Linked DNA regions of Homo sapiens: region 1 is linked to region 2. The links are contacts of gene promoters, found by promoter capture Hi-C in blood cells and fetal thymus (Javierre and others, 2016). All regions are on one chromosome and are shown on one strand. Each heading gives the region's core, a stretch centred on a gene start or on the middle of the fragment in contact. The rest is flanking DNA. Distances are from core to core; before and after follow the strand shown. Region 1 has its middle 34 kb from the start of NPAS2. Region 2 holds the start of NPAS2-AS1 (NPAS2 antisense RNA 1).

The links. Contacts are between HindIII fragments. The CHiCAGO score rates a contact against its expected background, and 5 or more counts as called.
Region 1: a contact is called between a fragment that was not itself captured here and the fragment with the promoter of NPAS2-AS1 in region 2, in 4 of 17 cell types (endothelial precursors, M1 macrophages, M0 macrophages and 1 more). The highest score is 9.0, in endothelial precursors.

What each region holds. Positions count from the first base shown.
Region 1 is chr2:100,783,838-100,787,960 of GRCh38, forward strand. No RefSeq gene overlaps it. Among named protein-coding and RNA genes, the nearest start is that of NPAS2, 34 kb to the right of the region's middle. The HindIII fragment of the contact is 2,723 bases long and covers 833-3,555 here.
Region 2 is chr2:100,975,667-100,979,794 of GRCh38, forward strand. NPAS2-AS1 (NPAS2 antisense RNA 1) reads right to left here and starts at 1,495. Exons shown (of 3, transcript NR_110213.1): 1 at 1,050-1,495. It overlaps NPAS2 (neuronal PAS domain protein 2), which reads left to right. Exons shown (of 21, transcript NM_002518.4): 15 at 2,044-2,133. The HindIII fragment of the contact is 3,647 bases long and covers 998-4,128 here.

The DNA.
Region 1 (4,123 bases), core at 944-3,443, 190 kb before region 2:
CTCTACTGAAAATACAAAAAAATTAGCCGGCCGTGGTGGCAGTCGCCTGTAGTCCCAGCTACTCAGGAGGCTGAGGCAGGAGAATGGCGTGAACCCAGGAGGCGGAGCTTGCAGTGGGCTGAGATCGTGCCACTGCACTCCAGCCTGGGCGACAGAGTGAGACTCCATCAAAAAAAAAAAAAAAATGGTATACAAATCTTGGATGATATTCCATTGTATGGGCCACATTGCATAGACCACATTTTGTTCAACCACTCTTTTGCTGATGGACACTTGAGAGGGGACTCCCCTCTTGGCTGTTGTGAATAACATTCCTATCTCAAATACCTAAGAAAACAAGAGTGTCAAGTCCTGCAGCTGAAAGTGCCCTCCCACGTGAGTATATGTCTCCTCCCAAGCATGACTCTTGGAAAGGAGGGAGTGAGCAAGAATGAGGCCTGGGGAAGAAGGGGTCTGGGACGGACACCAGGAAAGGATGGAAGGTTCTGGATCTCAAGGAACCCACAGTGGCTCTCTGGAAAGATGGCCAAGTTGAACTTTGTCCCATTCCTGGCTGAGTTCTCCCACTTTCCCACTCTCACCCTATGAGAGCTGATTCGAGAACAATAGGTTTTGATCAACACCTGACTGACATCTACGAATGTGGTTTTTTAGGGTCAACATCTCCCGGATGTAACAACTAATTTGGAACATAAAGAAAATGAGAGAGAAACCCTTGTCCAACATGTTATTGAATCATGCATTGTTTGCTTCAGATTCAGAGTTGGAAACAATCTGACTACCAGAAACCAAAAAGCAGATTAAAAAGGAATAACACTAATCAACATTGTTAAGCTTCTATCACGTGCCAGTCACTTCATATGCACTTTCTCTCAATTGCACAAAAAGCCTTGCAAGGTGAGTATTACTGACACTGCATTACAGATGAGAAAACTGGGGCTCAGGGGGTTCATGAGCTCGCCCGAGTCTGACCCCAGAGCCTGTTCTCCTGGCTGTATATCATCTGCAGTTTCAGGGTCAAAGGCCGTTCTATTAAATCATCTGCACAGCCCGTTTTCGTACTTCAGATGAATAACCCTTTGGTTGATTTATAACTTTTAAAGTGTGACTAGTCAGTCATAATGGCTGACCAGAGCAACTTAGGCATGGTTTATGAGCAGAAATGGTATTACGAACAGAAAAGGTATATATTGTCTACTATATGCAGAGTCCAGGCTACAAACTGTGACGTTTGTGAAAAAATTCAAGTTGCAATGCCTGCCCTCAGGAGCTTAAAATCTAGTCCTGATATCTTGCTGTTTTGGATGCTTTCTTCACCCTGCACCCTGATGGCCACCCTGTTCTATGGCCGATACTGCTGCAATGGCCTGTGCGCCATTAGTCACACACTCAGAGGGCACCATCGCAGGCCGGGTCTGCCCTCGGCACTTGGCATGGAAAAATGAAGGCTGTCTGAGCCTCAGTTGCTTTATCCACAGGCGGGGCTCATGATCCTTGTCCTGCCTCTCGCATGGGGATTGCAGAAAAATAAAATGAGATAATAGAAGTGATCGCACTGCAAAATGAAAAGCATTCTATCAGTCTAAAATGGTATTTCTTATGATTTATGACTGGAAACCTTTGCTTTTTATTTTATTGGAGACTTACTTGATTCCAATTTGAGCTGATATTGTGGTTTTTACAGAACAGACTGCCATTTATTGAATTCCTGATTTGTGGCAGACACATAGATTATCTCATTTAATCCTCACAACAGCTCTGTGATGTAGGCACTATTATTATTATCCCCATTTAACCAATGAGGAAGCTAAGATTCGGAGAGCTTAGGTGAATGGCAGAGGAAAGACGTGGCTGCAGGCTTGTCTGTCTCCACAGCCCATGTCGGGCCACCAGGATCCAGGTCGCAGCAGAAGAAACAACCTTAGGACTGAGAGCAAGCAGGCATTTCTACCCACTCAATGCATCAGCGCTCAGGCAAGCAAGAGGTGCCTTGCTATGGATGCTTACTTAAGAGGACACACCCTTGGCACGGGTGGTTCTCCAAATACAATAACACAAGCCAGTGAGGATGCTCAGATTTAGAAAAGCAAAACTCACATCAAGTGCATCACCCCTAAAGCCCCCCAGCATTGTGTATGAACAGTGACCCCCACCTAGAGACACACACATCAAGAGTGTGTGGCTGGCATAATCTCACCAGATTACTAGGAACCTGGTCTGTTTGTATTACCTCAGATGTTTGTTTTTGCTTACAAGCCGGGTATGATGTTGAGACAAATTATCTAACAACCCTCACAGATGAATGATATTTTCCTAGTTATTAAAGGTCATCTGCAGTCACTGCTGTATTGCAAGGCTTCTCACCGTGGAACTCGGTCCCTTCTTCCTGTCTGAAACTGTTCAGCTATAGAAAGATTCCTCCTCGGCTTCCAAAAAAGAAAACCAAGTTGATATTTTGCCGAATTTGAATTGCAACCAGAAAAGAAGGTCAAGTTTTAAAAGAAGTAACACGGGAGGGGATTGTAATTAAATCGCTCTGGGCTGGGTAGGGATGATTCATTTCAAGTACATAACATTCTGGGAAGCATGTGACCAAAGGTATTTTTCTAAATAACCTCAAGTACTAGTCAAGTGAGTCTTTAAATTGCATGCCAGCGACATCTCCTAACTGGTATTTTGCTTGGCAGGCGCTGAGCCACCACCACAGCCCGGATTTTCCTGCAGGCAGAGCCCAGTCTTGTTTCGGCAGTCATGCCTGCTGCTTTTTGCTTCTGCCTGGAAAGATGGCACAGCTGCAGAGGATAGGCACATTTGGTGGCCTCTACCTGTCAAGGGTGACTCTACTCAGTTAGGGGGTCTTCTCTAAGGCCCATGAAGATGGCATGACCAGAGTCCTTGGGTTGGGTATGACAAAGCCTTAGGTTTTCTCCAAATGGTGGCACTGCTGAAATTCTACCTCTTCCAGGAAATTTTTGTCAAAAACAATGAGGAGACCCTAGGTGATGGCCACTCAAACATCACCCCCCTTACTCTGACAGTACCCAGCCCCCACCCTCATGCTGCTCCACTCCCATCATCCAAATTGTGCCCAAGGTTGCTGTCAGATTAGTATAGTGACTCTTCTCTCAAGATGCACCAGGGTATGTCCTGGCGTGACCACCTGACCCAAGCTGAGCCCATCAGAGACCTTTCAAAGCCAGACCACAAAAGTGGAGGAAGCTGATCTCTAGAAGAGAAGGACAATTGATCAAATGTCCAGAGAGGGGCAGGACTAAATTTAGCAACAGAGTGTTCTGAGGGTGTTTGAGTCCCTGGTCTGTTTGCCCTGACATCCAGCTATTCCTAGATCCTGCAGGACACCGAGCCTTAAAATTAGTTTCCTTGTTCTCTCAGGCTGGTTCAAGTGCAGTGTCTGTCACTTGCAACCAAAAGATTCCTAATAATGTCACCTGACTCTCTTTCACTCATGATCTCACTATTACATATGAAATCTCTGTAATTGTACTTTGTCTACTTGCACAGGCATCTGGTTTATAGGTGGACTTACTTTAAGAAAGCTTGATATGTTCAAATGCAAATAATCCAGCCTGAAGAATGATGGATAAGTATTAACACCCCCTAAAGAATTTTTTATTCTACAAAAAAAGAACTTACTACATGGGGTTTTTTCCAATTACCTAATGCATTTTCCTAATGCGTGAAAAGTATTCTTTTGAATTCAAAGTGTTTATCAAAGAGATTAGTAAAATAAATTATGATGCACCATATGTGTTAGTCTGTTCAGGCTACCCTAACGAAGTACCACAGACTGGGTGGCTTAAAAACAGAGATTTATTGTCTCACAGTACTGGAGTTTGGAAGTCCAAGACCAAGGTGTTGGCAGAGTTGGTTTCTTCTGAGGCCTTTCTACTTGGCCTGTAGACAGCCATCTTCTCCCCGTGCTCTTCAGATCAACTTCCCGCTCTATGTGTCTAAAGTTCCCCTTTTAATCATGTGAACAAATGTGAACCTGAAAAAGCCAACCCTTTAAGTGGCTAACTGGGCCTAAATTTAAAATAGAGCCAAGCAGCCATTTGCTGCCTAGAGGTCACGCATGTACTCTATGTTCTCCCAAAAACCCACA
Region 2 (4,128 bases), core at 245-2,744:
TACTTAGGGATTGAGAGTGTAGGGTGGCAGATGGGGGTGGGAAGTTAAGTAATTTAATTGGCAACTAATTTTAAACATTTGCATGACAAAATTAACATGGATGCATATCCATTAGAATACAAAATCCAAGTGAATTTTAAGGATTAAAGGCAAAACTGCAAACCCGGGGTCATACCCTCATACCCCCAGAGCCCCTGGGGCTACACAATTAGGATTCTTCTGTTTTGAATCCCCTTTCATGCTGGTGAAAATATTTGAGCAGCTCAGTGTCAACAAAAATGTACCTCTGCACATATCAGGTAGCGTCCCCAACATGTGCCAGATCCTTCCAGAACATCGGGATGTATGGCCCTGGCTATATGTAAAGTCACTGGCATGCACCACTCTGGTCATCTATTGCCAGGTAGCAAACTACACCTAACTTAGTGGCCTAAAGCAACCACATGTATGAAGTTCATGGAGTCTGGGTCAGGAATTCAGAAAGGGCATCATGGGGATGGCACTTCTCTGCTCCTTGGTGTCGGGGATCTCGTGGGCCTAGGCTATGGAATGCACCCACCAGATGGTGTCTGCACATGAATGTCCAGCAGCCGGGCTGGGTGGCTGAGGGCTGGGCTCAGCTGAGGCCATCCGTCATTGACTTGCATGGGCCTCTCAAGCCTTAGGCTTCTCCTGGCATGGTGGTGGACTCCAGGTTCCAAGAGGAGACACCTGGAGACGCAGGCAGGAACCATGCAGACCTCTGTGACCTAGCCACGGAAGTCATATAGTATCACCACTGCCATACCTCTTGGTCAAAGCAGCCCTGAGCTCACCCATGAAGAGGGATATAGACCTCCACTTCTAGACGGGAGAAGTACCCAGGAATTTTAGGGGCCACCTCCAGATAGTTGCCAAACCCCTCCCACCCACACTTCACTGTCACTTTGGAGATGGAGTGAACGTGCCACCTTCCTGCTTGCTGTCTCCATAAAGGCTGTGCACACCCTGCTTGAGAAGCTTGGGCGATGCGTTTTATTTTCAAGTAGAATGTGGCAAAGACCACTTACTTTCTCTCCAGCCACCTCCAGATGCGCTTGCAAGCTGTGCCTGCCATTCTTCCAGACTCTCCTGTCCAGTGTGACTCACTTTGCCAACAACGGAGGCCCAGAGTGCTTCTGTCTCCTCCCAGCTGCGCAGGGAAACAGAACCCAGACCAGCTTCTGGATCAGCCCTGTGCCTGGGATTTCTCACTGAAACAAGGTCTCCTGGTGTCATTTCCTCCCAATGCTGTCCTGGGTGACACTTTCCATTTGAGCTGCTTTTTTATATAGGCCCTAGCAACTAGGGGCCGTGTCGGAATAACTTCAGACGAGTCCTTTCACTGTTCTTTAAAAAAAAAAAAAACCACTAGAAAACCACTAGCCCGTGAAGCAGAGTGTTTCATTTCTTGTTACTATACATTGTCTCCCCCACCCACCCGAGTGATCAGGGAGCGCAGATGTGACTCAGCTCACTTCCCAGGAGTCTCTTAAAAGGTTCTGGGCAGAGGCTGGTGAAACTGCCCCAGTCCTCACTGCCTGGATGAGTTCATGGACAAACATGCATGGCGTGTCTGTCCATCTGCATTAGCGCTGAGCAGAAAAGATACGGACGCACAGCAGCTCATGGTAGCAGTCCACGCACGTCGTCCTGCTTGATGACACCGCTAAGAATTAATCCATTTGGGAGGAGAGCAACCAAATCCACCCAGGGCGGAGTCCAGGACAGCAGGCAAGGGAAGGGAAGTAGAGCTGAGCTACCAGGCTTGGGCAGGTAGCAGCAGCCTGGCAGAGCACACTGTGGTGGGGTGGAAGCCTGCACCAGTTGTGCAGGGGCTCTGCCCTTGTGCCCTGCGTAGGAAGCAGTGCAGCCAGGGAACAGACACCTATACTTTCTAGAACTCTTGACTTGGAGCTGTTCACCCCAGTGCGGAACGCAGAGAACCCACCGGACCAAGAGACCACATCCCTGTCCCCTGGAATGGCAGAAGCAGTGGTAACAAAGCCCCTTTCTCTCCCACAGGCCCCTCTGCCTTCCCCATCGTCCTGCGACCTCACACAGCAGCTCCTGCCTCAGACCGTTCTGCAGAGCACGCCCGCTCCCATGGCACAGGTGAGTCTGGGACCCAGGAAAGGGCAGCCCCTCTCAAGCCAGAAGTCCGCAGTGTGCTGCGCTGATGGTCTTGTACACTTAGGTCCCAACCAAGGCCCTGACGTGGGGGAATGTCCCTCCCAATGTGTGTGTGGCCTGTGTCGAGCCATGAGGTTCCCCCCACACCCACCCTCTCGTCTCCAAGTTCTTTTTTCCAGTGTCTGGGGTTTTCTTTTTTTAAATTTCAGTAGTTTTGAGGGAACAGGTGGTGTTTGATTGTATGGATAAGTTCTTTAGGGGTGATTTCTGAGATTTGTGTACCTGTCACCCGAGCAGTGTACACTGTACCCAATATGTAGTCCTTTATGCCTCACATCCCCCCACCCTTGCCCCACCAGTCCCAAAGTCCATCATTTCATTCTTATGCCTTTGTGACCTCATAGTTTAGCTCCCACTTAGAAGTGAAAACATACGATATTTGGTTTTCCATTTCTGAGTTGCTTCATTTAGAATAATGACCTCCAGCTCCATCCAAGTTGCTGCAGAAGTCCAGAGTCTGTTTTTTTAATTCTTTTAACAGTCTCTGTTCACCTCTTTGCCACTTTTCCACATTCCTCTTGTTCTTTACGACTCCAAATTGGCCATGGTATTTTAGAAAAGGTCTGAATTGGGCTGCATGTCATAGAAAGACTGAAAGGATCTAAAAGCCGTGAGTCCAGCACTATAAATATCACATTTGTTTAAAAAAAAAGAAAGAAAGAAAGAAAGAAAGAAAAGAAAAGGATTACGGCTTTGCTGAGTAATTCCATCCTTGTTTCAACAACATTCGGTGAGTTACTATTTGGGTCAGTCAGTGAGCGAGGTGTTAGGGATGTAAAGATGTAAGTCAGCCCTTGCTTTTAGTTCTCAGAACTAAAGGGAGAGACAGGCATGTAAACAGAGACGCCGCCGTGGCAGGGCATGCGTTTTTATAGAACCGTGAAGGAAATATTCTACCCAGGGAAGTCTGACGTGGCTTCCTGGAGGAGGTGACGCTTGAGTTGGCCCCGGAAAGGTGGGTAGGAGGTTGCCAGATGGTTTGGCAGGGGGACAGCAGGGATGTGCTTCAGCAGGGAGTTCTGAACACGGGGAGTGACAAACCCTGCCCAGGCCTGAGCTCTGACTTCAGTTCCCTCATAGGAGACTTAGCTCTGCCCAGACCATGGCCACAGGCTAGAGCTGCGTCCCAGACGGCAGTTCAGCAGCAGGTGCCCCTCTCTGTCTTGGCACACATCTGTCACCACTGATGAAAACTATTTCGGAACATATGCCCTCTTAGTGGGGGTCTCTCATGCATTCCTGGAGTAAGACACATGCTAACGCGTGCTGCTTGCCAGAGTCAGGCTTGAAGATTGGTGTAAAAAAGCTACCCTTCTGGAATCTACTCATTAAAACTGCCTATATTCACCCTCATTAGGCCAAAAGAAAAAAAAACCTGAATACTGTTTTTCTCTTTAAATTTCCAAGGCCTATTTGGTAAGAAATTAGTAACCTTTTAATCCAAAGGGGCATAAAATGAAAATGTCTTTAACTTCTGGGTCTTGCATTATGAAGAATGTCTGTGTTTACAAGACACGATGGTGTGATGCAGTCTCTTTTGGAATTCTGATTTTTCATTTATTGAACTTCTTAGTCTGTCATGTGTACTATATTTAATAATAACTATATATATATATATATATATATTTTTTTTTTTTTTTTTTTTTTTTTTCTGAGACGGAGTTTCACTCTTTTTGCCCAGGCTGGAGTGCAATGGCACCATCTTGGCTCACTGCAACCTCCACCTCCTGGGTTCCAGCGATTCTTCTGCCTCAGCCTCCCAAGTAGCTGGGATTACAGGAATGCACCACTACCAGGAATGCACCACTACACCCAGCTAATTTTGTATTTTTTGTGGAGACGGGGTTTCGCTGTGTTGGCCAGGCTGGTCTTGAATTCCTGACCTCAGGTGATCCGCCCACCTCAACCTCCCAAAGT